Regions from separate parts of the Homo sapiens genome. Here regions 2, 3 and 4 are each linked to region 1. The links are contacts of gene promoters, found by promoter capture Hi-C in blood cells and fetal thymus (Javierre and others, 2016). All regions are on one chromosome and are shown on one strand. The core of a region is centred on a gene start or on the middle of the fragment in contact, and the rest is flanking DNA. Distances in the headings are between cores, read along the strand shown. Region 1 holds the start of CYP2F1 (cytochrome P450 family 2 subfamily F member 1). Region 2 has its middle 39 kb from the start of LTBP4. Region 3 overlaps NUMBL (NUMB like endocytic adaptor protein). Region 4 overlaps ITPKC (inositol-trisphosphate 3-kinase C).

Region 1 (7,296 bases), core at 4,532-7,031:
ACACAGGCAAATCATTTAAGGTCAAGAGTTCAGGACCAGCCTGGGCAACATAGTGAGACTCCATCTCTAAAAAAATAAAAAACAGGCCGGGCGCAGTGGCTCACGTCTGTAATCCCAGCACTTTGGGAGGCCTAAGCGGGCAGATCACGAGGTCAGGAGATTGAGACCGTCCTGGCTAACATGGTGAAACCCCGTCTCTATTAAAAATACAAAAAATTAGCCGGGTGAGGTTGCAGGCGCCTGTATTCCCAGCTACTCGGGAGGCTGAGGCAGGAGAATGGCCTGAACCCAGGAGGCGGAGCTTGCAGTGAGCCGAGATCGTGCCACTGCACTCCAGCCTGGGCGACAGAGGGAGACTCCGTCTCAAAAATAAATAAATAAATGAATAAATAAATAAATAATAAAAATAAAAAACAAAAAAAGTAGCTGGGCATGGTGGTACAGGCTTATAGTCCCAGCTAATTGGGGTGCCAAAGCAGGAGGATCACTTGAGCTGAGGAGGTAAAAGAAAGAGGGAAGGAAGGAAGGAAGGAAGGAAGGAAGGAAGGAAGGAAGGAAGGAAGGAAGGAAGGAAGGAAGGAAGGAAGGGGCAATACCTACCATTATACCATTTCTGGTGCGTGTTTTTTAATAGCCATCCTAATGAACACGAAGTTATATCTCTTGCTTTTGATTTTTATTTCCCTAGATGGCTAGTGATTTTGAACATCTTTTCATAAAAGGGTCTTTTTAAGATGGGAGAAATACAGCTTATTGGGGTTTTTTGTTTGTTTGTTTTGTTTTGTTTTTTGAGACAGAGTCTCCCTCTGTTGCCCAGGCTGGAGTGCAGTGGTGTGATCTCGGCTCACTGCGACCTCTGCCTCCCGGGTTCAAGCAATTCTCCTGCCTCAGCCTCCTGAGTAGCTGGGACTACAGGCACACACCACCATGCCAAGCTATTTTTGTATTTTTAGTAGAGTCGGGGTTTTACCATGTTGGCCAGGCTGGTCTTGAACTCCTGATCTCTATTGATCTGCCCATCTCAGCCTCCCAAAGTGCCGAATTACAGGCATGAGCCACCATGCCCGGCCAGCTTATTGGCTCTTTATGAAAAATATTCAATAGAGAGAAGAAAACAAATCACACAGGAAATGAAAACATGACACAGCCACTTTGGAAAAGAGTTTGGAAGTTTCTTATAAATATACACTCATCATAGAACCCAGCAGTCACACTCACAGATATATCCAGATACACGAAACATAGATCCCCACAAAGACATATGCATATATGCCAAGAATAATACATATTATTCAAAATAGCCAGACCTTGGGAACAATCCACATTTCCATCAACTGGTGAAAAGCAAATTGTGGCACATCTATATGCGGTGACATGCTACTCTGCAATGAAAAGGAATGAGCTTCTGATGTATGTAACACATGGTTAACTCTCAAAAGCATTACGTATGCTTCCCAGAAGCAGGCTTGGTATATGGAAGAAATGCTGTAGATTTTCTTTTCTTTTTTTTTTTTTTGAGACGGAGTCTCGCTCTGTCGCCCAGGCTGGAGTACAGTGGCATGATCTTGGCTCACTGCCACCTCCGCCTCCCAGGTTCAAGTGATTCTCCTGCCTCAGGCTCCCGACTAGCTGGGATTACAGGCACCCTCCATCAAGTCCAGCTAATTTTTGTATTTTTCATAGAGAGAGGGGTTCACCACGTTGGCCAGGCTGGTCTCAAATTCCTGACCTCAGGTGATCCACCCGCCTCAGCCTCCCAAAAAGCTAAGATTACAGGCGTGAGCCACCATGCCCAGCCGTAGATTTTCATTTATATGAAATGTAGATCAATAGTGGGAAGAAAAAACTAGAACAGGGCTGGATGCAGTGGCTCAAGCCTGTAATCCCAGCACTCTGGGAGGCTGAGGCAGAAGGATTGCTTGAGCCCAGGAGTTCGAGATCAGCCTGGGCAACATAGGGAGACCTCTGCCTCTACAAAAAATTTTTAAATTAGCCAGTTGTGATGGCACAGGCCTCTACTTCCAGCTACTCAGGAGGCTGAGGCCGGGGGATCATTTGAGCCAGGGAGGTCAAGGTTGCAGTGAACAATGATCACACCACTGCACTCCAGCCTGGGGGACAGAGCAAGACCCTGTCTCAAAAGAAGAGAAAAAAACCTAGAACAATGGTTGCCCACAAGAGATGGAGCATGGTTGACTAGGAAGGAGTAGGAAGGAGGGTTCTCTTTTCATTATTATTATTACTTTAGAGAAGGGAGTCTCTCTTTGTCACCCAGGCTGGAGTGCAGGGGTGTGTTCATAGCTCACTGTAGCCTGGAACTCCTGGGTGCAAGTGATCTTCCACCTCAGCCCCTTGAGTAGCTGGGATTACAAGCGTGCACCACCACACTTAGCTATTGTTTTTTTCTTTTTTTTAGTAGAGACAGGGGTCTCGCAATGTTGCACAGCCTGGTCTCAAATTTCTGGCCTCTAGTGATCCTTCCACCTCAGCCTCCTATAGCTAGGATTATAGGCACAAACCACCACGCCCAGCTCCAAGAGAACTTTCTTGGATGATGAAAATATTCTGTATCTTCACAGGGATTTCGATACCTTCAAAATTCAGCAAATGTTCACTTACCATGTGTGTATTTCATCACAGGTAAATTTTACCTAAAGAAATCGTTAAGGGAAAACTCCATCTACACACCTTCACAGGAACTATGACACAGTAAATAGAATCAAGTCCTCCAGTTGGCGATGGAATGGGATCTGGCACACCAGAAGGGGGCTCACCTAAGCCTGACATGGGACACTGTGTGGTTCTAGCAGGAAGGAAGGCTGCATGTGCCGTCCAGATGCCAGTGGGCAAGAGGACAGGATGATGGAGGATGCGCCCGCTTACTGCCCATTGCTGCCATTCTCTCCGTGAGATAAGAAGCGGGTTCATCAACAAAGAGTGAGGTGACTGAAGAGGGTTTTGGAGTTTGAGGAGGCAGGAACAAAAGGATAGGAATAGGGCGGGGGGAGTTCCAAGAGAGGACAATGAGAGGCGAGGCATTTTTCCACCACGGAGTGTGTTTCAGCTTTCTGCAATACCCCAGCGGTTCTCAACTGGGTTGATTTTTTTCCTCCCAAGGGGACATTCAATAGTATCTGGAGTCATGTTTGTTTGTAACAACTGGTAGGGAATGAGTGGGTGGGTTCTGTCATCTACTGAGTAGAAACCAAGGACACTGCTAAACATCCTACCACACACAGGATGCAGCCCCCACCACCCATGAAGGCCCAAGACATCAACAGCAGTGAGTTGAGAAATTGCAATACATCCCTTCCTTGCCCCAAGTTCCCTCTGTAGCAGGAGAGCAAGTCAGAATAACAGAACTCAAAGCCTCTTAAAACCCCCCTTCTCGGCCACACATGGTGGCTCACGCCTGTAATCCCCAGAGGCCCAGGTGGGAGGATCGCTTGAGCCCAGGAGTTGGGGACCAGACTGGGTGACATAGCATGCTAGATCTCATCTCTACTAAAAATTTTAAAAATTAGCCAGGTGTGGTGATGCGTGCTTGTAGTCCCAGCTACTTGGGAAGCTGAGGCAGGAGAATCCCTTAAGCCCAGGAGATCGAGGCTGCAATGAGCTATGATCACACCACTAAACTCCAGTCTGGGTGACAGAGTGAGACCCTGTGTCAAAACAAACTAACTAACTGCCCTTCCCATAAATCCCAGTTTCCCCAATCAGGTGGTCCCATTAGGCCCATCTTTTTTTTCTTTTTTTTTCTTTTTTTTGAGTCAAAGTTTCACTCTTGTTGCCCAGGCTGGAGTGCAATGGTACAATCTCAGCTCACTGCAACCTCCACCTCCCGGGTTCAAGTGATTCTCCTGCCTCAGCCTCCTGAGTAGCTGGGATTATAGGCAAGCACCACCACGCCTGGCTAATTTTTTTTGTATTTTTAGTAGAGACAGGGTTTTGCCATGTTGGTCAGGCTGTCTCAAACTCCTGACCTCAGGTGATCCACCCACCTCGGCCTCCCAAAGTGCTGGGATTACAGGCATGAGCCACCACGCCCAGCCTCATTAGGCCCCTCTTAACCAAGTTCTAGGGTGAGGGATAAGTTGCTTACAGGGTTGGCGTGGATACAGCACTACACCCTCCCCTTAAAAGTAGGGAGTAGACGCCAAGGGAAACTAGAGCTATATAATCCCATCATCAAGCCTTCAGCCCTCTTCCAGGACCTGCCCCAACCGGCCTATCCAGGACTGAAACAACAGCATGGGCCCCACCTCCACCCCACCATATGCCTGGGACCTAGGGTGTCAAATTCCCCAGGACCTCCAAACACTTCCTCCTCTGCCCCTCTGAGAACAGCAATCCTGGTGCACACCCACGAACCTGTGGGGGTACCCACACCTCCACCTGGCCTCCCAGACCCTTGACCGCAGGGGCTCTCCACCCAGCCTAGCCCCTGGCACCAGAGCCCTGGCCCAGCTCCAGGTTTTGCATTCTGCCCTTGTGACCTGGCCAGGAGGTGGGTAACTAGGGCCAGTTTCTTCTTCTTTTTTTTTTTTTTTTTTTTTTGAGACCGAGTCTCACCCTGTTGCCCAGGCTGGAGTGCAGTGGCATGTTCTTAGCTCACTGCAACCTCCACCTCCCGGGTTCAAGCGATTCTCCTGCCCCAGCCTCCCAAGTAGCTCAGACTACAGGCGTGAGCCACCATGCCTGGCTAATTTTTGTATTATTAGTAGAGACAGGGTTTCACCATGTTGGCCAGGCTGGTCTTGAACTCCTGACCTCAGGTGATCCACCCACCTCGGCCTCCCAAAGTGCTGGGATTACAGGCGTGAGCCACTGCGCCTGGCCTACTAGGGTGAGTTTCTAAGGCAGGAGCTGAGAGTAGACATGGCTAGTAGGGTGCTCAGGAGGGCAGGAGGAGGGCTGTTTATGAGCCAGTGGTGGGAGAGAGTGTCATTCTAGTCTGAGAGGCTTTTTCCCTGTGGCTTCCAGCTCTGCCCTTTTCTTAAACACTCCTTCAGCCTCAGCTTGGCTTCAGTCCCACCAAGTGCAGTCTGACTCGTGGAGACATGAGAGATAGAGAGAGTGAGAGACCAGAGAGATCAGGAGACAGTGACTGAGAGGGACTTACAGGGAGATCAGGGAGAGAAGCAGAGAGAAGGAGAAAGCCCAGAGAGCATAAGAAATGAAGACCCAGAGACACCAAAGGAGGGAGAGACAGAGACACAGAGAGACAAAAAGATTCAGAGGCAGAGACTGTAGAGGCAGAAGCAAAGCAAGACACAGAGCATTTCAGAGACCCACGGCAAGAGACAGGGAACAGCATGGAGAACTATGAAAAAATAGGCTTCCAGAGAAAGAGAAAACTCCAGCTCTGGAGGGAAAGGGACTTAGCCAGGGCCACTCGGCCCATCAGTGGCAGAAATGGACTTGAACCCAGAGAAAAAGAAACAAGTGCCCCAAATACCAAAGGAACCCAGCCCCCATCCCTGGCCCATCATTTTGCGACAGCCCCATGACTACCCCAAAACCAGGCCCAGGCTCCAACTGGCAAAGCAAAAAAAAAAAACAAAGAAAGAAAGAAAGCTTTGCCCCATCCCAGGAGGGCCCCCAGGCGCAGCCCCCTCCCACGGCACCTTTCCAGCTGGCTGTGAGCCCTAGGGCCGCAGGAAAGGTATGGCAAGATGATGGGAGGGATTTAAAGTTCACAGCGAGAACAAGAAAAGTGGGGTTAAGGAGGAGGGTGTGGGCAGAAACAACTTAAGAACAACCTCTGCCCCACCACCCCCCAAGCACACCCAGAGCTGCAGGCTCTAGCGCATCCCAGCCAGTGTCTCCTGCAGCTCAGCAGGTAAAGGGCCCCGGTGAGGGAGGCAGAGAAGGAGGGGGTGTCTCCCAAGAGAGGGTGGGTCGCCAGCTCCAATCTCTGTCTCTGAGACTGGCTAGGAATCTTTTTTGCTGTTTCCTCTGAGAGCTCTCATGTCCCTGTTCTGAGCACTGGGATTTCTTTACTGGTGCTTCACCAAGTAGGTGGCTTCTCTCTCTGCAATGCAACCCCATGGTTGGCAACACTTGATTTTTTCCTGTCACTGTTTCTGCCTGTGCCCTTCCTCTCTGTCTCCGTCTCTTTCTCTCTCTCTCTCTCTCTTTTTTTTTTTTTTTTTTTTTTTGAGGCTGGAGTGCAGTGGTTCAATCTCAGCTCACTGCAACCTCCACCTCCTGGGTTCAAGCGATTCTCCTGCCTCAGCCTCCTGAGTAGCTGGGATTACAGGTGCCTAACACCACGCCTGACTAATTTTTGTGTTTTTAGTAGAGACAGGGTTTCACCATGTTGGCCAGGCTGGTCTCAAACTCCTGACCTCAAGTGATCCGCCTGCCTCGGCCTCCCAGAGTGCTGGGATTACAGGCGTGAGCCACCGTGCCCGGCCTCAGTCTCTCTTGGTCTGCCCTTTGCAGCCTACCCGTCTCTTTGTGTGGCTCTAATATTCCCTGCCTCTCTTATTCTCTCTCTCTCTCTCTCCATCTCTGTCTATGTGACTCTGTCTTTGTGTATCTGTTTCTGTCTGTCATTCTCGTCTCCCTCAGTCTCTGTGTCTAGCTCTGTCTCTCCCTCTCTCTGTCCCTCTTACCCTTTTTCTCTCCATCCTTCCATGTCCCTCTCTGTCTCTCAGTCAGTGTCCATCTCACTGTCTCTCCACTCAATCTCCCTTGTCTTTCTCTAGCTCTGTGTCTGTCTAGTTCTGTCTCTTTCTTTCTCTAGTCTATGTCAGCCTCTCTCTTTCTGTGATGTGCTCTCTGGCTCTCCCTATCTCTGTGTTTGTCTGTCTCTGTCCCTGTGTGTCTTGATCTCTCTTTATCACTGTCTCTGTATGACAGTCTCTTGACAGACAGGTGATGATAGATAGATAATAGACAGATGATACACAGATGATAGATTATGAAGATAGTAGATAGATGATAGATATAGATAGATAATAGATGATAGATAATAGACAGATCAATGATAGATGATAGAAGAATAGATAGATGATGGATAGACAGATGATAGATGATAGATAGATAGATAGATGATAGATAGATGTTGATAGATGTTAGATAATAGATGAGAAACAAAGAAAGAAAGAAAAAGAAAAAAGAAAGAAAGAAAAAGAAAGGAAGGAAGGAAGGAAAGAAAGAGTGATAGATGATAGATGGCTGATAGGTAGACAGACATCTGTAGATATGTAGATCGCTCACTGTTTTTCTGTCTCTCTCATTATCTTTATGCATATCTCTTGGCCTCTCTTAGTCTCTGTTCCTCTATCA
Region 2 (7,296 bases), core at 334-2,833, 480 kb before region 1:
CCTCTGCCTCTGGGGTTCGAGAAATTCTCCTGCCTTAGCCTCCTGAGTAGCTGGGATTACAGGCACCCACCACCACACCCAGCTAATTTTTTGTATTTTTAGTAGAGACAGAGTTTTGCCATGTTAGCCAGGCTGGTCTTGAACTTCTGACCTCAGGTGATCCGCCCCCCTCGGCCTCCCAAAGTGTTGGGATTACAGGCATGAGCCACCGCTCCCGGCCAAATATCCCAATTCTTAAGAAATACATAGGGCGGCTGAGCACATTACCTCATGCTTGTAATCTCAGCACTTTGGGACACTGAGGTGGGACGATCCCTTGAGCCCAAGAGTTCAAGACCAACCTGGGCAACATGGCAAGAACCCATCTCTCAAAAACTTTAAAAATGATCCAGGTGTGGTGGCTGCAGTGTCAAGGCTGCAGTGAGCCAGGATCATGCCACTGCACTCCAGCCTGGGTGACAGAGTGAGACCCTGTCTCTACGGAAAAAAAGAAAGAAAAGAAAAAGAGATACATTACAGAAGTTTTTGTTTGTTTGTTTGTTTGTTTGTTTGAGACAGTCTTGCTCTGTCGCCCAGGCTGGAGTGCAGAGTGCAGTTCAGTTCACTGAAATCCTGGTTCACTGCAACCTCACCTCCCGGGTTCAAGTGATTCTCCTGCCTCAGCCTCCTGAGTAGCCAGGACTACAGGTGTGTGCCACCACACCCAGGTAATTTTTGTATTTTTAGTAGAGACAAGGTTTCTTCATCTTGGCTGGGCTGGTCTCGAACTTCTGACCTCAGATGATTCGCCTGCCTTGGCCTTCCGAAGTTCTGAGATTATAGGCATGAGCCACCGTGCCCAGCCCATTATAGAAGCTTTTAGGGGTGATGTTGTTTGTAACTTAGCCTCAAAGATTTTTTTAAAAATCAGAAAAAGAAAATACATAACAGAGAAGAGAGCAAGTGATAAAGGAAATGAGGTAGAAATGTTACCAATCCATGAACCTGAGTATAAAATACAAGAGAGTTCTTTGTCCTATTATTTGTCTTGCAACTTTTTGGTAAATTTGAAATTATTTCCAAAGGAAAAGTTAAAACACTTTCTAAAATTGAGAGATCTAAAATCTTAGGCCAGGCGTGGTGGCTCACACCTGTAATCCCAGCACTTTGGGAGGCTGAGGCAGGTGGATCACATGAGGTCAGGAGTTGGAGACCAGCCCGGCCAATATGGTGAAAACCTGTCTCTGCTAAAAATACAAAAATCAGCTGGGCATGGTGGGAGGTGCTTGTAATCTCAGCTACTCAGGCACGAGAATCGCTTGAACCTGGGGAGCGGAGGTTGCAGTGAGCCGAGATGGCGCCACTGCACTCCACCCTGGGTAACAGAGCAAGACTCCAACTCAAAAATAATATGAAATAAAATAAAATCTTAGACAACACTATCATTATAAGTAGGATTGGGGAGATCAAAAACAACATGCTCTGTGCTCCAGGTACTGTTTGGTGTGATGTTGAAAATATTAGATTTTAAACTTGATTTTTTCTTTTTTTTTTTTTTGAGGCAGAGTGTTGCTCTGTCGCCCAGGCTGGAGTGCAGTGGCGTCATCTCGGCTCACTGTAACCTCCGCCTCCTAGGTTCAAGCGACTCTTCTGCCTCAGCCTCCTGAGTAGCTGGGACTACAGGTGTGCGCCACCACACCTGGCTAATTTTTGTATTTTTAGTAGAGACGGGGTTTCACCATATTGGCCAGGCTGATCTCGAACTCCTGACCTCATGATCTGCCCTCCTCGGCCTCCCAAAGTGCTGAGATAACAGGCGTGAGCCACTGCGCCTAGCCTAGACTTGATTTTTTAAATTTCTGTCCTCCAATAGAAATAGACCTGATTTTTAAAAATGTGCATGGCCAGGCACAGTAATTCATGCCTATAATCCTAGGACTTTGGGAGGCCAATGTGGGAGGATCACTTGAGCCCAGGAGTTGGAGATCAACCTGGACAACATAGCTAGACCCTGTCTCTACAAAAATAAAAATATTAGGTGGGTGTGGTCTTGTACACCTGTAGTGCCAGCTACACAGGGGGTTGAGGAGGGAGGATCCATTGAGACCAGGAGTTCCAGCCTGCAACGAGCTAGGATCTCACCACTGCACTGCAGGCTGGGCAACAGAGCAAGACCCTGCCTCAAAAAAAAAAAAAAAAAAAAAAGCATGTTAAAATTTCAAAGATTGCTACAAAAAGAAAGAAATGGTGCATAGATTCCAAACTAGTAGAGGGAAAACAAAGAATAAGAAAACATAAGACAAAACTAAACAAAAAATGCAGCCAATTCAAAGAAGCTTAAATGAGCATGAAAAAATAAATAAACGTAGAAAAATGAGGACACTAGAATCACAAAGCAAAATGGTAGAAGTAAATAAAATACATCATTAATCACATACACAAAAAATGTATTCAGGGCCAGGTATGGTGGCTCACACCTGTAATCCCAGCACTTTGTGAGGCTGGGGCAGACGGATCACTTGAGGCAACAAGTTTGAGACTAGCCTGGCCAACATGGTGAAACCCCATCTCTACCAAAAATACAAAAAAAAAAAAAAAAAAAAAGAAGAAGAAGTTATCCAGGCATTGTGGTGCACGCCTGTAATCCCAGCTACTTGGGAGGCTGAGGTAGGAGAATTGCTTGAATCCAGGAAGTGGAGGTTGCAGTGAGCTCAGATTGCACCACTGCACTCCAGCCTGGGTGACAGAGTGAGACTCCCTCTCAAAAACAAACAAAGAAAAAATGTATTCAGAGGCCAAATACTTCTTACCACCTCCATAGCTGCCACCCATATCTTACCCTCCTCCTAGGGTTTGGAGTTCCTACTCCTGGCCCCACAATCTCTCCCCGTCATGCAGATAGAGGGACTCTGGGAATAACCAAGTCAACTCAACTCCCTCTGCTGCTCAAAACTTTCCTGTGGCTCCATCTCACTCAAAGATTATTTTGCTCATTTTTTTTTTGTTTTTTTTTGAGACAGGGTCTCACTCTGTTGCCCAGGCTGGAGTGCAGTGGTGCAAGTCATGACTCACTGCAGCCTAGACTTCCTCGGCTCAAGCCATCCTCCAGGCCTCCAGGGCTACCACAACCCAGCCAATTTTTTGATAGAGACGAGGCCTCCCTTATTGCCCAAGCTGGTCTTGAACTTATGGGCTCAACTTATCTACCCACCTCGGCCTCCCAAAATGCTGGGATTCCAGGCCTGAGCCACTGTGTTCCGCCAATCTCATTCAAAGTAAGAGCCAAAGTCCTCACTGTGGTCCAGCAGACTCTGCACCGTCTGCTTCTTGTTCCCTCTCTGACCTCACCTCCCCTCCACCCCCCACACGCTCCTCTGCAGCAACACGGATCTCCTTGTTGTTTCTCTAAGATCCAGACATGTTCCCATCCCACCCCAGGACCTTGGCACTGGCTGTTCCCTCTGCCTAGGGGACTCTTTCCACTAGGTTCAGTTTCTCTTTTTTTTTTTTTTTGAGACGGAGTTTTTTCACTCTTGTTGCCCAGACTGGAGTGCAGTGGCACGATCTCGGCTCACAGCAAGCTCCTCCTCTCAGGTTCAGGCAATTCTCCTGCCTCAGCCTCCCGAGTAGCTGGGACTACAGGCACCCGCCACCACCCCCAGCTAATTTTTGTATTATTAGTAGAGACGGGGTTTCACCATGTGGCCAGGCTGGTCTCGAACTGCTGATCTCAAGTGATCCATCTACCTCAGTCTCCCAAAGTGCTGGGATTACAGGTGTGAGCCACCGCGCCTGGCCCCCTTGGCTCAGTCCCTCACCACCAGCAGAAGAATGGATAAACTGATCCCACAGTGGCCTGCAATGTGTGTGTGCTGCAATGAGAATAACCTGTAACTGCACACGACAACCAGGATGAATTTTTTTCACGGTGCTGACTGAAAAAAGCCAGATGCTAAAAAGAACATATTTTCAGATTGCATTTACATGAATTCAAAACAGGCACAACCAATCTATGCTGTCAGAAGTGAGGGTGATAATGACCTTGGAGGGAGGGCAGGTGATAAGGGAGCGCCGAGGGGGCTTCTGGGGGGCTGGAGATATTGCTTCTTGGGCTGGTGGCTGGTGACACAGGTGTGTTCAATCGGTGATAATTCCTCCAGCGGTTACACTTACGGTTTGTACTTTCCTGAATATGGGTCTACTTCAAGAAACCACTGCTGAAAACGAGGAGCTGCACCCACCACCCAGTGTCCCCTCCATCCAGTTTAAGCAACAGGACATTCTCAGCCCCCCGGGGTCCCTCCCTCCCAATGCAATGTGCTTTTATGTCTTCAAGGGGCCTGGCCACCACCTTGGTTGCTTCCCCCAGCTTGCTATGCATGTCACCCCACGCATGTTCCAGGCAGCTCCACAGAGGTCCCCAGAGAGAAGGCAGGCTGTGGGTGGGAGGAAGGGCAGGGGTGGGGGACGTGGCTTCCCAGCGGAGCCCGGGCAGGGGGAGGAAACATTTCTGCAACACCCCACACCAAGTCCTGACTTCGGGGGGGCTTTGCAGGGTGAATTCTAAGTGCCCAGGGCCCCATGTGAAGGGGTCAACTGTGTCTCACTCTGTGTCTGTCTCTCTGTCTGTCTCTCTTCCTGTTTCCTCCCTCCCTCCCAGTCTCTCTCTCCTCAAGAAGAAAAAAACTCACAACTATTTACATAACAATTTTATATCAGACTGTAACCCAAAAACCCAAGTTCCAACTTCGAATTTTTCAATAAACTTTGAATAAATAGTAGTGCTATTTTTCTTTCTTTTTTTTTTTAGTACTGTAATGTTTACTTTTAAATTTAATTTTTACTGGCAGACTTTACGTATATGAGGTTCAAGAAAAGAAAATCTCCACTGTTTACATTTCTTTTCTGACTATTAATATTGTTCATTTCATTTCCTGATTATTACTGGCAATAATTTTGTCCTATGGGGAAGGGAGGCGCTTGGCAGGCCTCGAGTTATCCTTTGAGACATGGGGGTCTGTGGTCAGATTTAGAAAGTGCTTGTGGGTGGCTGGGTGGGAGTGGGTCATGGGAGACATAAGGGCAGGCTGGAGTCCAGGGAGGAGGCCGGCCGGGCAGGGACCCAGGCAGCGGAGATGGACAGGGCCATGGAGAATCTGGGAGGCGCAGGCCCTGGGGACTGTGGATTGGGGAAGGAGATAATTTTATTTTATTATATTTTTTTGAGACAGAGTTTCAGTCTGTCTCCAAGACTGTAGTGCAATGGCACGATCTCTGCTCACTGCAACCTCTGCCTCCCGAGTTCAAGGGATTTTCCTGCCTCAGCCTCCCAAGTAGCTGGGATTACAGGCACGCACCCTCACACCCAGCTAATTTTTAATATTTTTGGTAGAGACGGGGTTTCACCATATTGGCCAGGCTGGTCTCATACTCCTGACCTCAAGCGATCCACCTGCCCCGGCCTCCCAAAGTGCTGGGATTACAGGCATGAGCCACGACGTCTGGCCTAATTTTTTGTATTTTTAGGAGAGACAGGGTTTTGCCATGTTGGCCAGGCTAGTCTTGAACTCCTGGCCTCAAGTGATCCGCACACCTCAACCTCCCAAAGTGCTGGGATTACAGGTGTGAGCCACTACGCCCCGCCAAGGGAAGGGGAGAATTTGAGTGCTATTGAAGGTAGAAAACACAGAACATAGGCTGGGTGTGGTGGCTCATATCTCTAATCCCAGCACTTTGGGAGGCCAAAGTGGGAGGCTGGCTTAATCCCAGGAGTTCGAGATCAGCCTGGGCAACATAGTGAGACCCCTGTCTCTACAAAAAATTAAAAATTAGCCAGGCATGGTGGCACCCACCTGTACTCCCAAGGCTACTTAGGAGGCTGAGGTGGGAGGATCGCTGGATCCCAGGAGATCTGAGGTGAGCCGTGATCATGCCACTGCACTCCAGCCTGGGCAGCAGAGTAAGACCCTGTCTCCAAAAATAAAAAATAATTTAAAATAAAGCGCGGAACACTGTCAGGTTGTCTGTGGGGGAGCAGCGGGCAGGCGACCAGGAGGGCTGGCTGCTCTGTGCAGGGCTAGTGCCTGGGTTGGGATGACTCGGCCTCAGAGCTGTAAATAAAGAAGGAAGAGGGCCGGGCGCGGTGGTTCACGCCTGTAATCCCAGCACTTTGGGAGGGCGAGGTGGACTAATCACCTGAGGTCGGGAGTTCGAGACAAGTCTGACCAACATAGAGAAATCCCATCTCTGCTAAAAATACAAAATTAGCCGGGTGTGGTGGCACATGCCTGTAATCCCAGCTACTCGGGAGGCTGAGGCAGGAGAATCGCTTGAACCCGGGAGGCAGAGATCACAGTAAGCCGAGATCACAACACTGCACTCTAGCCTGGGCAGCAAGAACAAAACTCCATCTCGAAAAAAAAAAAAAAAAAGTAGAAGAAAGAAAGAGCTGCCACAGTTGAGAGCTTCCTGGATGCCTTTGTTAACTCTTGGGGTTTTCACATACCCATCTTACAGATGGGGAAGCTGAGGCTCAGAGAGAGGAAGGCCCAAGTGGAAGAGCAAGCCTGGAGCCCAGGTCTCCTCCTGCCTAATCCTGGGCTTTTGCTGGTGGACTCCCGCCCAATCTTGAATAACTTCAGGCCTTAAACAACCTCCCACGATTGCTTTTCCTCCCATTAGAACAATAAATGCAGATACAAAAACCAACTATGCTTGTCTACAAAGCCCAAGAGAATTTTTGAAGTAATAAAACTGTCATGAATGCAGACTGTGGTGATTACATGACTTACGAATTTTTCAAAACTCAGAATCGAGCCAGATGAAATGATCCTGCCTGCAATCCCAGCACTTTGGGAGGCTATGGCAGGAGGATCATTTGAGGCCAGGAGTTCAAGACCAGCCTGGCCAACATGGTGAAACCCCGTCTCTACTAAAAATACAAAAATTAGCTGGGTGTGGAGGCACATGCCTGTAATCCCAGCTATTTCAGCAGCTAAGGCAAGAAAATTGTTTGAACCCGGAGGCTGAGGTTGCAGTGAGAAATGATCGTGCCACTGCACTGTAGACCCTGTCTCAAAAACCAAAACCAAAACCAAAAAAAGAAAAAAAAACCCTTAAGAATCAGGATTATACACGAGCACACGCACACTCACCCATAAATTTTACCATTTGTAGAAAAGAAGAAGAAAATTCAAAACCAAATACAATGAATGTACTTTCTCTGGATTCCAATTCACACCAAACAACTGTAAAAATCTGTTTTTGAGACAATTGGGGAACACAAACTGGCTTTTAGGAGATATTAAGGAATTTCGG
Region 3 (7,296 bases), core at 2,590-5,089, 450 kb before region 1:
CGCCCAGCCCAGTCTTTTTACATTCTTAACTGAAGAAAAATGGGTGCCCTTCAAAGATTTTAAGATTAGGAAACAAAAAGTCAGAAGGAGCCAAATTGGGACTGCCAAGTGGATGCCTAATAATTTCCCATCAAAACTTGTAAAATTGCTCGTTTGATGAGGAGAATGAGCAGAAGCGTAGACATGCTGGAGAAGAACTCTCTGGTGAAGCTTCCCAGGCTTATTTCTACTAAAGCTTCGGCTAACTTTCTCAAAACACTCTCATAATAAGCAGATCTTATTATTCTTTGACCCTACAGAAAGTCAACCAGCAAAATGCCTTGAGCATCCCCAAAAACTGTTGCTATGACCTTTGCTCTTGACCAGTGTGCTTCTGCCTTGACTGGATCACTTCCCCGCTCTTGGCAATCATTCTCTGATTACGATTTGTCTTTAGGATTGCACCCGTGAAACCATGTATCATTTCCCGTTACAATCCTTCAAGGAAATGCATTAGGATCTCGATCTCACTTGTTTAGCATGTCCATGGAAAGCTCTGCTCTTCTCTGCAGCTGATCTGGGTGCGACCGTTCTGGCACCCATCGAGTGGAAAGTTTGTTTAGCTTTAATTTCAGTCAGAATTGTGTAAGCTGAGGCCGGGTGAGGTGGCTCAAGCCTGTAATCCCAGCAGTTCGGGAGAATGAGGCAGGAGGATCACTTGTGTCCAGGAGTTCAAGACCAGCCTGGGAAACCTAATGAGACCCCCATCTCTACAAAAAATACGAAAATTTAGTGTCAGGCCTCTGAGCCCAAGCTAAGCCATCATATCGCCTGTGACCTGCACGTATACATCCAGGTGGCCTGAAGCAACTGAAGAGCCACAAAAGAAGTGAAAATAGCCTTAACTGATGACATTCCACCATTGTGATTTGTTTCTGCCCCACCCTAATGATCAATGTACTTTGTAATCTCCCCCACCCTTAAGAAGTTTCTTTGTAATTCTTCCCATCCTTGAGAATGAACTTTGTGAGATCCGCCCCCTGCCCGCAAAACATTGCTCCAAACTCCACCGCCTATCCCAAAACCTATAAGAATTAATCATAATCCCACCACCCTTTGCTGACTCTCTTTTTGGACTCAGCCTGCCTGCACCCAGGTGAAATAAACAGCCTTGTTGCTCACACAAAGCCTGTTTGGTGGTCTCTTCACAGGGACGCGTGTGACACTTAGCTGAACGTGCTGGCACGCACCTGTAGTTCCAACTACTTCGGAGGCTGAGGTGGAAGGATCGCTTGAGCCCAGGAGGTTGAGGCTGCAGTGAGCCACAATCTCACCACTGTACTCAGCCTGGGCGACAGTATGAGAACCCTGTCTCAAAAAAAAAAAAAAAAAAAAAGAAAAAAGAATTGTGTAAGCTGTACCAATTGAGATGTCTATGGTGTTGGCTATTGTTTCTGCTGTTAACTGTAAGTCCTCTTTAATTAAGGCATAAACAAATTTAATTTTTTTCTGCAAAAATTGATGTGGATGGTATGCCACGGTGGGCTTCATCTTCAGCATGACCCAGGCTGGAGTGCAGTGGCGCAATCACGGCTCACTGCAACCTCTACCTCCCAGACTCAAGTGATCCTCCCACCTCAGCCTCCTGAGTAGCTGGAACTACAAGTGTGCACCACCACACCCAGCTAATTTATGTATTTTTTGTACGGATGGGGTTTCACCATGTTACCCAGGCTGGTCTCGAATTCCTGAGCTCCAATGATCCGCTGGCCTCAGCCTCCCAAAGTATTGGGATTACAGGCGTGAACCACCACGCCCGAACTTGTCCCTTCTTAAAACGAGTTATCCATTTGTAAATGGCTGATTTCTCTGGGGCACTGTCAAGTTTTTGGAAAACATCAATGATTTCATCATTCTTCCACCCAAGCTTCACCATCAATTTGATGCTTGTTCTTGCTTCAATTTTAGAATTCGTGTTGCTCTGATAGGGGCTCTTTTCAATCTGATGTTTTATTTTAGTGTCTCAAACTAGGTCCTGTTCAGACAAGTTATAACAAGTTAGTATGAATTTATTTTGGTGCAAAAAAAAAAAATTGAACTCCATGCATAGTTTTTTCATAATACACATTTTCCATGAATTTTTGGAAGACCCTTCTTTTTCTCTCTTTTTTTTTTTTTTTTTTTTTTCTGTAGAGATGGTCTTGTTCTGTCACCCAGGCTGGAGTGCAGTGGCACAATCATGGCTCACTGCAGCCTCGACCTCCTGGGCTCAAGCAATCCTCCCACCTCAGCTTCCTGTTACTGGGACTATAGGTGTGCACCACCACACCTTGATAATTAAAAAAAAAAATTTTTTTGTAGAGATCGGGGTGGGGGGGGGGGTCTCACTATATTTTCCAGGCTGGTCTTGAACTCCTGGCCTCAAGTGACCCTCCCCAATCAGCCTCCCAAAGTGCTGGGATTACAGGCACAAGCCACAGTGCCTGGCCAATAAATGTTTTTTGAATGAATGAAGAAATTAGTGCATGGACATATTTTCCCATCAGCTATTACAATAACCAGACTCTGAGTTCCCTGAAGGCAGGGCCTGTGAGTTTCATTGTGTACCCTCAGCCCTCAATAGCTGATAAAAATAAATATTCAGAAAATGCTTGTAAAATGAAGAAGAGAATATGTATGGGACAGAAAGTAGACCAGTGGTTGCCTGGGGCTGGGACAGGGAATAGGGAGCGACTGCAAATGGGCAGAAGGGATCTTTTCAGAGTGATGGAAATGTTCTTGAATTGGCTGTGATGGCTGCAGAACTGTAAAATCACCCAAAATCAGTAAATCACTTATAATAGGTGAATTTTATGACAGGTAGATTATACCTCAGTAAAGCTGTTAAAACAAAACCAGTGTTGAGGGAGGAAATAAATGTTACCTTGGTAATACTGAGGACTCAGTAGTTATCAAGACAGCTCTCTTCCCTGCCCTCATGAGGTTTTCTGTGCAGGGCGGGGACGCCGACCCATTATAGACAGTGACAGCCTAGAGCCATCACGGCGGGATGGTGGGGAGGGGACAGGCAGAGGGGTGGGAGGCCAGGATGGGGGAAGCCCGGGCAGAGAGGTTGGGCTGGAATGGGGGGCACAGGCAGAGGGGTCGGGGCGGGGACTGGTGAGGTGCAGGCAGAGGGCAAAGGGGTCGAGGTCCAGATGGGAGATGTACAGGCAGACGGATCCGGGCCAGGGCGGGGAGGTACAGGCCCAGTTGAGGAGCATAAGGAACCATAGGAGCCCAAAGGAGGCGCCCGACCAGTCAGGGAGGACTTCCCAGAGGGGTGAATGGCTGAGCCAGGGCCTGAAGTATAATGTTCATGAATGCGACAGCAATTTTTTTTTTTTTGAGACCGAGTCTCCCTCTATCACTGGAGTGCAGTGGCTCGATTTCGGCTCACTACAACCTCCACCTACCGGGTTCAAGCGATTCTCCTGCCTCAGCCTCCCGGGTAGCTGGGACTACAGGCGCCCGCCCCCACGTCCGGCTAATGTTTGCATTTTTAGTCGAGACGGGGTTTCGCCATTTTGGCCAGGCTGGTCTTGAACCCCTGACCTCAGGTAATGCACCTGCCTCGGCCTCCCAAAGTGCTGGGATTACAGGCGTGAGCCACCGCGCCCAGCACAATTTTAATTTTTCTTAAACACTTTTCCTGCCTTAGCAAAGTCTTGGAGGGGCGGCCGCCCAGGCGCCGCGAGCGCAAGACCACGAGGGGGCGCTGCTTCACCACGCTAGAGGAGCGCTCCCGGCAACCACGTGGCCCCACAGGTGCGGGAGGTCGGCGAGCGCGCCTGGAGGGTGGACGGGGTAGGTTACGGCCAGGCAGCCCGGGGTGGCGCGTGGCCCTGCGCAGGGCAGTGGAAGCAGCGGGCCCCAGGGAGCATGAGACGCCGCGCTCCGTGGGGCGGTCCCAGCGCTGTGCAGCGAGGGGCCAGGGCTGTCCCCGGTCCTGCGCGGCCGGCTCCCGGAGAAACTGTGGCCTCCTGGGGGTGGAGCTTTAAAAAACAAAACAAAACAAAACAAAATCACCCAACAGGAAGCGGGGTGGGGGCGCCCGGCTCTGTCACCCGTGGAATGCATCAAAATAGCCTGCGCGGCCGGGGGCGGTTCCGGGAAAGGGGGCGGCCGCGAGGGGCGGGGCTGCAACGGAGGGCGGAGCTTCCCAAAGAACGGGAGAGAGGAGTGCAGAACCGGCCCCAGGGGGACGTCCTCCTGTTCCCCCAAAATGACCTCGATAGGCGTTTGTGTGGGATGGGGTTCCTGGGTAGGGCGGGGCTTTCCAGTGCGATGTCCCTGGTCTATTCTTAGCGGGCTGAAACCTGGAGAAGTGGGAGTGGGCGGTTGATCCGGGTTCCAGGGCCTCTTTGGAGCGAAAAGCTCCGTGGAGAGCCAGAGTCTCCATCCTGGGCGTGGGAGGGAAGATGGGAAATGGGCCAAGAGGAGCCTGTGGGAGGTCCTCCCCGGGACGGCCCCCTTCCATCTGCATCCGCGGGAACCGTTGTGGGGGCAGCTCTGAGAAAGGCTGCTCTGGGCGCAAGGAAGGGTGGTTGAACGAAGAGATCAGTCAGGGACGGGGTGGGGGTGCCTTGACTGTGTCCCAGATTTGCTGCGTGCTTCTGACCTCAGTTCCCCATCCTTCCAGTTGCTCAAATCCTCTCTGTCCCAGTCCTAGGCCGTTTCTGCCCCTCTCACTTCCTAGTGGTTTGCAGAGGGGAAACACTGAGGCTGCCTCTTCTGTGCCTGGCCCTGTGTTGGCACGGGGAAGTGACTGAGACGCCCCAGACCCCCTTCTCCCTCACAGTCCAGTGAGGCAGACAGACCTGCCACCAGATAGTGACAGCCCAGAATGAGTCATTGAGAGGACGGGGGAGGCACAGGCAGATGGGTCAGGGCTGGGATAGGGGAGGAGAGGGGCCTGTAGGATCCAAGGGGAGAGTGGGTGCTGCTGACTCAGTCTGGGGGGGTTGAAGAGCCGTCTGAACTTAGACCAAAAAGGTAGGATGGGGCCGGGCGCCTGTTATCCCAGCACTTTGGGAGGCAGAGACAAGAGGATCGCTTGAGGCCAGGAGTTCCAGACCAGATTGGACAACATAGCGAGACCCCCATCTCTACAAAATAATTTAAAAATCAGTTGGGCATAGTGGTGTACGCCTATAGTCCCAGCTACTCAGGAGGCTGAGGTGGGAAGATTGGTTGAGCCCAGGAATTCAAGGCTGCAATGAGCTATGATTGCCCCACTGCAGTCCAGCCCGGGTGACAGCGTGAGACCCCTGCCTCCAAAATAATAATAGCAAAAATACTGGGCTGGGCGCGGCGGCTCACACCTGTAATCCCAACACTTTGGGAAGCCGAGGTGGGCAAATCGCTGAGGTCAGGAGTTCCAGACCAGCCTGGCCAACATGGTGAAACCCAGTCTCTACTAAAAATACAAAAATTAGCTAGGTGTGGTGGCAAGGCATCTGTAGTTCCAGCTACTTGGGAGGCTGAGGCAGGAGAATCGCTTGAGCCCAGGAGGTGGAGGCTGCAATGAGATCACACCACTGCACTCCAGCCTGGGCGACAGAGTGAGACTCTGTCTCAAAAAATAAATAAATCCTAATGAAAGGATAGGATGGGGCTCAGGGCCTTGGAAGAGGGTCACCTTCTAACAAAAGGTATTTGAACGGAGTCCTAAAGAATGAGTAGCATTCTTCTGGGAAGTGCTGTGTCACCATGAAGGAAAGGGTGTTCTAGGCAGAAAGAATGACAAATGCAAAAGCTTGGAGGTGAGAGTGTGGCTTATCTCTGGCAGGGTCCTCTGCTCCCTGCCTGGGACATTCCCCCAACGTCATACCCCGACAGAGCTGTCTTAGGTCTCCTAGTCCTGGAGTCCACAAGCAGGTTAATGGGATGTAATGGAAACGCTATAGAGGGCAGACCCCTAGGCTTGTTCCCTCACAGCCTGATGCTTTTTTGTTTTTGAGACAGAGTCTCGCTCTGTTGCCCAGGCTGGAGTGCAGTGGCGTGATCTTGGCTCACTGCAACCTTGGCCTCCCAGGTTCAAGCGATTGTCCTGCCTCAGCTTCCCAAGTAGCTGAGATTACAGGCACCCACCACCACGCCTGGCTAAGTTTTGTATTTTTAGTAGAGACGGAGTTTCACCATGTTGGCCAGGCTAGTCTCGAACTCCCAACCTCAGGTAATCCACTTGCCTCGGCTTCCCAAAGTGCTGGGATTAAAGGCATGAGCCACCACGCCCAGCCTTTTGTTTTGTCTGCTTTTTTAGACAGGGTCTCACGCTGTCACCCTCACAGGCTGGAGTGCAGTGACTGCATCACGGACCACTGCAGCCTGGACCTCCCAGGCTCAAGCAATCCTCCCACCTCAACCTCTCCAGCAGCTGGGACTACAGGCGTATGCCACCACGCCCACCTAATTTTAAAATTATTTTGTAGAGACAGGGTCTCATTATGTTGCCCAGGCTGGCCTCGAACTCCTGGGCTCAAGCGATCCTCCCACCTTGGCCTCCCGAAGTGCTGGGCTTACAGGTGAGAGCCACCTCAGTGCCCGGCCTCAGCCTGATGGTTTCACGACTGCCTTTGACTTTGGCCCACACTAATCAAATGTATCACCGTGGGCCACTGACTCAACTTCCCCATCTATCCAGTGGGAATAGAATATTGGACTGCACAAAATCAACCACCTCATTTTAAAGAGCTATAACGAAACAAAATTTATATGTTATATATTTTTAAAAATACATCTTATAGATTAAAGGACTCAAGAAACAATAGCAAGACTGTAAAACGTTGCCACATCAGGTGACACTTTGGCCAGAGTTATGGAAAATGCTGACAAAACAAGAATTTGCCAGCATGGGCAAAGATATACTGTTACCAACCCAACTTGTTAAAATATTAATATTGAGCTAATTAGAAGTAGTTTTTTTTTTTTTGTTTTTTTTTTTTGAGACAGAGTCTCATTCTGTTGCCCAGGCAGGAGTGCAATGGTGTGACCTCAGGTCACTGCAACCTCTGCTGCCTGGGTTCAAGCGATTCTTGTGCCTCAGCCTCCTGGAATTACAGGCGCCTGCCACCACGCCCGGCTAATTTTTGAATTTTTGGTAGAGACTGGGTTTCTCCATGGCGGCCAGGCTGGTCTCGAACTCCTGACCTTAAGTGATCTGCCTGCCTCGACCTCCCAAAGTGCTGGGATTACAGGCGTGAGCCACTGTGCCCAGCCAGCAGTTCATAATATTTGTTTTTTATTCCTTGATTCTAACTCTGTAAGGAATAGAAA
Region 4 (7,296 bases), core at 3,016-5,515, 380 kb before region 1:
CTGTCAGTGTGAGCAGCGCAGCCTGGAGCAGCTGATGAAAGACCCGCTGCGACCTTTCGTGCCTGCCTACTATGGCATGGTGCTGCAGGATGGCCAGACCTTCAACCAGATGGAAGACCTCCTGGCTGACTTTGAGGGCCCCTCCATTATGGACTGCAAGATGGGCAGCAGGTGGGGCTGGGGCAGCCCTGGGGCAGGGATGGAGGGCAGGGGGTGGGCATTATTGAAAATATTGGCCTGGCCAGGCGCGGTGGCTCACGCCTGTAATCCCAGCACTTTGGGAGGCCGAGGCTGGTGGATCACCTGAGGTTGGGAGTTCCAAACCAGCCTGACCAACGTGGTGAAGCCCTGTCTCTACTAAAAATACAAAAAATTAGCCAGGCGTGGTGGTGCATGCCTGTAATCCCAGCTACTCAGGAGGCTGAGGCAGGAGAATTGCCTGAACCTGGGAGGTGGAGGTTGCGGTGAGCTGAGATTGAGCCATTGCACTCCAGCCTGGGCAACAAGAGTGGAACCCTGTCTCAAAAAAAAGAAAAGAAAAGAAAAGAAAATAGCGCCAAGTCCATTTTCAAAGTGGTTGTACCAGTGTACCTTCCCACCACCATGTATGAGTGTTACAGTCGTCCCAGATTCTCACCGGTGCTTGGTACTGTCTGTTTTATTAACTTAAACCATTCCGATGGGTTTGGAATAGGATCCCTTTTTTTCCTCTTTGAGACAGAGTCTTACTCTATCGCCCAGGCTGGAGTGCAGTGGCACGATCTCGGCTCACTGCAATCTCCACCTCCTGGGTTTAAGTGATTCTCCTGTGTAAACCAAGTAGCTAGGATTACAAGCGCCCGCCACCACACCTGGCTAATTTTTGTATTATTAGTAGAGATGGGGTTTCACCATGTTGGCCAGGCTGGTCTGGAACTCCTGACCTCAGATGATCCACCCACTACGGCCTCCCAGAATGCTGGGATTATAGGCGTGAGCCACCACGCCTAGTCTGCAAGAAGTGAACTCTAATTGCTTTCTCCAGCTGGGTTCAGTGGCTCTCACCTATAATCCCAACACTCTGGGAGGCTGTATACACACACACACACAGACACACACACACAGACACACACATAGTCTTCAACTCTCCCATTTCATTCTTTTAGTAGTCTTTTGATAAACATATTTTTATAAACAAAATAGTATTTGTATTATTACTCTTTTTTGAGACAGAGTCTCATTCTGTTGCCCCGACTGAAGTGAAGGAGCATGATTATAGCTCACAGTAGCCTTGAACTCCTGGGCTCAGGCGGTCCTTTCACCTTAGCCTCCAGAGTAGCTGGGACTATAGGTATGTCCCACCAGGCTTGGCTATATTTTATTTTTTATAGAGACATGGTCTCCCTGTACTGCCCAGGCTGGTCTTGAACCCCTGAGCTCAAGTGATCCTCCTTCTTCTGCCCCCTGAGTAGCTGGGACTGTAGGTGCATACTATCACACCTAGCTAATTTTCAATTTTTTGTAGAGACAGGCTATTTAGGAAAAGCTCTGAATCCATGCTTTTCCGTTCTCACACCACTGCCACAACAATGAGAGCACAGAAGACTTCTGTGACCAAATGTTTAGGTTTTTTAACCCCACACACCAAGCAACGGACACCAGCTGGATGTCCTCCAATTCAAGTCTAAAACCATCTACCTGGAAATAGTGTCAGATCCCACAGGTTGGGGACTCAGTCCCCAAGACTGCCCCCCAGTTACAGACACCAGTCATAAGTTCAGGCCTTCGAAACTTCTGACTGATTGGCTCCAAGTTGGAGTTCCCATGTCCTCCTCTTTGGGTTCAAATAATTTGCTGGAGTGGCTCAAATAACTCAGGGGGATACTTACTTACCTTTACTGGTTTAATATAAAGCAGGGGTCCCCAACCCCTGGGCCGCAGACCAGTACCGGTCCATGGCCTCTTAGGAACGGGGCCCCACCGTAGGAGGCCAGCGAGCATTACCGCTTGAACTCCACCTCCTGTCAGACTAGCGGGCAGGAGATTCTCTGGAGGGCGAACCCTATTGTGAACTGTGCCTGCAAGGGATCTAGATTGTATGCTCCTATGAGAATCTAATTGATACTTGATGACCTGAGGTAGAAGAGTTTCATCCAGAAACCATCCCCCTCACAGTCTGTGGGAAAAATTATCTTCTACAAAACCAGTCCCTGGTTGGGTACTGCTACAAAGGATACTGCAAAAGATGAAGAGAAGTGTAGGGCAAGGTATGGGGGAAGGGGTACGGAGCTTCCATGCCCTCCCTGGGCGCACCACGCTCCAGGAACCTCCACAGGGTCAGCTATCTGGAAGCTCCTGAGCCCAATCCTTGGTTTTTTTTTTTTTTTTTTTTTTTTTGAGAGGGAGTCTTGCTCTGTGTCCCAGGCTGGAATGCAGTGGCCTGATCCGCCCGCCTTGGCCTCCCAAAGTGCTGGGATTAGAGATGTGAGCCACCATGCCCAGCCTAATCCTTGGGTTTTTATGGAGGCTTTAAGACACCAGCATTCCTTCCCCCAGAGTATAGGGTGGGATCCTCTCTGGGGAGGGTCCTAAGACCCACAGTCAGGAAGGTGGGGAAAGATTAGAGTCCTGCCTTGGGGCAGGTGAAAGGAGGGCAGGAGGAGGTCAGAGATTTTGGTTTCTTGAGCCAGCTTCTGAGATCTAACACACCTAAAATTATAACAAAAGATTGTGGCTGGGCGCAGTGGCTCATGCCTGTAATCCCAGCACTTTGGGAGGCCAAGGCAGGCAGATCACTTGAGGCCAGTTCAAGACAAGCCTGGGCAACATGGTGAAACTCTGACTCTACTAAAAAAATACAAAAATGTGCCAGGTGTGGTGGTATACTCTTGTAATTCCAGCTACTCAGGAGGCTGAGGTGGGAGGATCACTTGAACCCGGGAGGTCCTAGAAGTTGCAGTGAGCCAAGATCACGCCACTGTACTCCAGCCTTGGTGACAGAGCAAGACTCCATCTCAAAAAAAAAAAAAAAAAAAGGCTGGGCGTAGTGGCTCACACTTGTAAATGGGAGGCAGAGGCAGGCCGATCACGAGGTCAGGAGTTCGAGACCAGCCTGGCCAACATCGTGAAACCCCATCTCTACTAAAAATACAAAAAATTATCCGGGTGTGGTGGCGGGCACCTGTAATCCCAGCTACTCAGGAGGCTGAGGCAGGAGAATCGCTTGAATCCGCGAGGCAGAGGTTGCAGTGACCCGAGATCACCACCATTCCATTGCACTCTAGCTCGGGCGGGCGTCAAAAAAAAAAAAAAAAAAAAAAAAAAGATTGTAACAAGGGCTATGAGAGTTACCAGCCAGGAACCATAGAGGGAAACCAATATACATTGTAACTAACACCGGGTCTCGCTATGTTGCCGAGGCTGATCTTGACTTTCTGGGCTCAAGTGAACCTCCTGCCTTGGCCTCCCAAAGTGTTGGGGTTACAGATGTGAACACTGCACCTGGCCCTACCTTTAATTTAGTCCAGTTTGTCAGTTTTTTTCATTGTGTTTAAGAAATCTTTTCCTACTCCAAGATCATGCAAATATTATGTTTTCTTCTACAAGCTTTATTGTTTTAGCTTTCATATTTAGACCTACATTCCAGATAGAATTAATGTTTCTGTGTGTGGGAGGTAGGGATCAGGTTCATTTTTTTCCATATGGATTGTTGACCCAGCACTGTTTATTGAAAAGACTTCCCTTTCCCCACTGAATTGCAGTGCCTAGTCATAACTGCACAACTCTACGTGTGTGTCTTTGTGGACTCTGTTGTATTCTGTGCATTGATTTGCCCATTCTTGTGCCACACTGTGGCTTTATGTCTTAATATCAGGAAGGGTAAGCCCTCCAGTTTGTTCTACATAATTTCCTTTGTCACATCCTCTGTGTGCTCAGGACCTATCTGGAAGAGGAGCTAGTGAAGGCACGGGAACGTCCCCGTCCCCGGAAGGACATGTATGAGAAGATGGTGGCTGTGGACCCTGGGGCCCCTACCCCTGAGGAGCATGCCCAGGGTGCAGTCACCAAGCCCCGCTACATGCAGTGGAGGGAAACCATGAGCTCCACCTCTACCCTGGGCTTCCGGATCGAGGGCATCAAGGTGAGGACCAGGAACCGCCTGGCCTGTCCCGGGAAGGCCTATAGCCAGATCCCAGGCAGGGCTTCTTGGGGAAAGCCACGAGAGAGTGCAGGAGACGGCGTGGGATGAAAGGCTGGGGCTGGGGAAGCCCAGCCTCTTTCTTACCTCCATACCCATCAGAGCCCAGGTTCTGTTTATCCGTCTGCCTGAGCATCTCCTGAGTCCATCTTTTCCTCCTCTCCTTCTCCATGGTCATGTCCTAGTCCAGCCCCATCTTCTCCTGCCTCTGTCTCCCTGGGCATCCTGGCCCTGGTCTCCCTGCAGCACAAGAGCTGGAGGGATCCCTTTCCCCCAGCTATGGAGAAGGTTTCTCTTTTTCTTTCTTGCATTCCTTTTTCTTTGTCAAATTAAATATAATTGTATGAATAGGCCAGGCATGGTGGCTCATGCCTGTAATCCCAGCACTTTGGGAGGCCAAGGCAGGAGGATTGCTTGAGGCCAGGAGTAGTTCAGGACTAAGCTGGCCAACATAGGGAGCTTCTGTTTCTAGAAGAAAAAAAAATTGTTTGAATAGCTAGTCACACAGTTCAAAAGTCAAAATAATATTATAAAAGGGTAAATGTGGAGAAATTTCTCTCCCAACTCTGCTGCTGTCCTTCCCATTCTGTCCCTCTATCCCTCTACCTGCTCATGGGGAACCACTTTGTCAGTTTCTTGTATTTCTTCCTGTTAGTGCCAGTAAATGGAGTTGTAGATCCGAAATGTTCCTCAGTACGCATACTGATTGGTACTTTGCTATTTTCACTTAATAGTAACACCCTGCAGAGTTTTCCACATCATTCCATAGAAAGCTTCCTCTTTCTGTTTTTTTTTCCCCCACAGCTATGTAACACTGTTTTTGTGACTGTGCCTGGTCCCCTATAGACAGACACCTGGGTTGTTTCCATTTTTTGCCATTAGCAGGCCTCAAAGAATCACTTTGTATATAAGACATTTTGCAAGTATGCAGATTGAGCTGTAGATTTCCAGAAGCAGGACTCCTGGGTCAAAGCTTAAAGGCATGGGAAATTTGCGAGAGATGACCAAACTTCCACTCTCGGTGTTATGCCACTGCACATCCCACCAGCAATGTATGAGAATGCCTGTTGCAGATCCGACCATGCCATTCTCCTGTTCGAAACCCTTCTGTGGCTCCCTAGTACCTTGAAGTGAAGTTCCATAGCCTGTAGGGCCCTCTAGGATCTAGCCTCTTCTCTCTCATTCTTCTCTTTTCTTTTTTTTTTGAGAAAGAGTCTCGCTCTGTCACCCAGGCTAGAGTGCCATGGCACAGTCTCAACTAATTGCAACCTCCACCTCTTGGGTTCAAGCGATTCTCCCACCTCAGCTTCCTGACTTGACGTGATTACTGGCACGCACTACCATGCCTGGCTAATTGTTGTTTTTTTTTTTTTTTTTGAGACAGAGTCTCGCTCTGTTGCCCAGGCTAGAGTGCAGTAGTACAGTCTTAGCTCACTGCAAACCTCTGCCTCCCGGGTTCAAGCGATTCTTCTGCCTCAGCCTCCCAAGTAGCTGGGATTACAGGTGTGCACCACCGCTCCTGGCTAATTTTTGTATTTTTAGTAGAGACAGGGTTTCACCATATTGACCAGGCTGGTCCTGAACTCCTGACCTTGTGATCCACCCGCCTTGGCCTCACAAAGTGCTGGGATGATTACAGGCGTGAGCCACTGTGCCCGGCCTAATGTTTGTATTTTTAAGAGAGGCGGGGTTTCACTATGTTGACCAGGCTGATCTTGAACTCCTGGCCTCAAGTGATCTGCCTGACTTAGCCTCCCAAAGTGCAGGGATTATAGGCGTGAGCCACCACGCCCAACCTCTCATTCCTCTCATTCTTTCTGTGTACCTTCAGGCACAGTGAAGCACTTGCATTTACTTGAAATAGGCTTGCTTTTTCCTGCCACAAGGCCTCTGCACCCCTCTGCCAGGAATGCTCTTCTATTTTTTTTTTTTTTGAGACAGGGTCTCACTCTGTCATCCCCCAGGCTGGAGTACAGTGGCGCGATCACAGCTCACTGCAGCCTCAATCTCCTAAACTCAAGTGATCCCCCCACCTCAGTCTTTTGAGTAGCTGGGACACAGGTGCGTGCCACCACACCCTGGTCTCTTCCGTCTGTGCCCCCTGGTCTGGTTGATTCTCAGTCATTTTTCTGTCTCCTTTCAAATTTTGCTTCCTCAGGGAAGCCCTCCCTGATTTCTGTTCTACTGATCAGGGTCCCCTCTTCACCTCCTCATAGCTCCTTATACTCTTTCATTATTCTTATCTTCCTTTCTGATCATCTTAATCAGTGTCTGCCCCCTCATCTGACTGTGTCTGTCGTGTTACTCCCTATTGCCAAGTGCCCACATAGCACCTGGCACAGTGTGGCAGATGACTTAGGTGGGTTCTCTGAGCCCTACTGAAACATAACAGATAACATTAGTCTCATTAGTCTCAAATAACTATATGCCAGGCACTGTGCTGTGCATCCTACACACCTGGTTTCCTCTAATCCTTACACCAGCCTTAGCAAGTAGACACCAACACAATTCCCGTTTTCCAGATGAGGAAACTGAGGCTGAGGCAGCTGAAATGACTTAAGACTGCCCAGCTAGAAAAGAGCAGAGATGGCCAGGTGCAGTGGCTCACGCCAGTAATCCTAGCACTTTGGGAGGCCAAGGCGGGCGGAGCATGAGGTCAGGAGATCGAGACCATCCTGGCTAACATGGTGAAACCCCGTTGCTACTAAAAATACAAAAAATTAGCCAGGCGTGGTGGCGGGAGCCTGTAGTCCCAGCTATCAGGAGGCTGAGGCAGGAGAATGGCATGAACCCAGGGGGCGGAGCTTGCAGTGAGCCCAGGTTGCACCACTGCACTCCAGCCTGGGTGACAGAGTGAGACTCTGTCAAAAAAAAAAAGAAAAGAGCAGAGTCACGATTCACAGCCAGCTCCACCCTGCTCCAAAGCCCACTTTCCTAGATGGGTTCAACCAGGAGGTTCAAGGTTGGAAGGGTGTGGAAGGACTGGGGCTCAGGCATGTGACCTGGGGCTGGGTTGAGCTGGGCTGGGCAGGTAAGCTGGCTTCCTCCTCTGGCAGCAAGTGTGCAGGCAGGTGGGTGGCCCTGGGAAGTTGTTTTTTTTGAGACAGAGTCTTGTTCTG

Evidence for each region. Contacts are between HindIII fragments. The CHiCAGO score rates a contact against its expected background, and 5 or more counts as called.
Region 2: a contact is called between a fragment that was not itself captured here and the fragment with the promoter of CYP2F1 in region 1, in 3 of 17 cell types (neutrophils, naive CD4 T cells and naive CD8 T cells). The highest score is 6.0, in neutrophils.
Region 3: a fragment that was not itself captured here is called in contact with the fragment with the promoter of CYP2F1 in region 1 in 9 of 17 cell types (naive CD8 T cells, naive CD4 T cells, total CD4 T cells and 6 more); the score reaches 12.9 in naive CD8 T cells.
Region 4: a fragment that was not itself captured here is called in contact with the fragment with the promoter of CYP2F1 in region 1 in 1 of 17 cell types (naive CD8 T cells); the score reaches 5.0 in naive CD8 T cells.

What each region holds. Positions count from the first base shown.
Region 1 is chr19:41,108,651-41,115,946 of GRCh38, forward strand. CYP2F1 (cytochrome P450 family 2 subfamily F member 1) reads left to right here and starts at 5,782. Exons shown (of 10, transcript NM_000774.5): 1 at 5,782-5,842. The HindIII fragment of the contact is 5,953 bases long and covers 5,576-7,296 here.
Region 2 is chr19:40,636,454-40,643,749 of GRCh38, forward strand. No RefSeq gene overlaps it. Among named protein-coding and RNA genes, the nearest start is that of LTBP4, 39 kb to the left of the region's middle. RefSeq lists a silencer at 440-561. The HindIII fragment of the contact is 1,460 bases long and covers 854-2,313 here.
Region 3 is chr19:40,659,201-40,666,496 of GRCh38, forward strand. It overlaps NUMBL (NUMB like endocytic adaptor protein), which reads right to left. Exons shown (of 10, transcript NM_004756.5): 10 at 6,705-7,296. Among named protein-coding and RNA genes, the nearest start is that of NUMBL, 28 kb to the right of the region's middle. RefSeq lists a silencer at 3,718-3,997. The HindIII fragment of the contact is 3,870 bases long and covers 1,905-5,774 here.
Region 4 is chr19:40,729,245-40,736,540 of GRCh38, forward strand. It overlaps ITPKC (inositol-trisphosphate 3-kinase C), which reads left to right. Exons shown (of 7, transcript NM_025194.3): 3 at 1-171; 4 at 3,916-4,120. Among named protein-coding and RNA genes, the nearest start is that of ITPKC, 16 kb to the left of the region's middle. The HindIII fragment of the contact is 1,365 bases long and covers 3,584-4,948 here.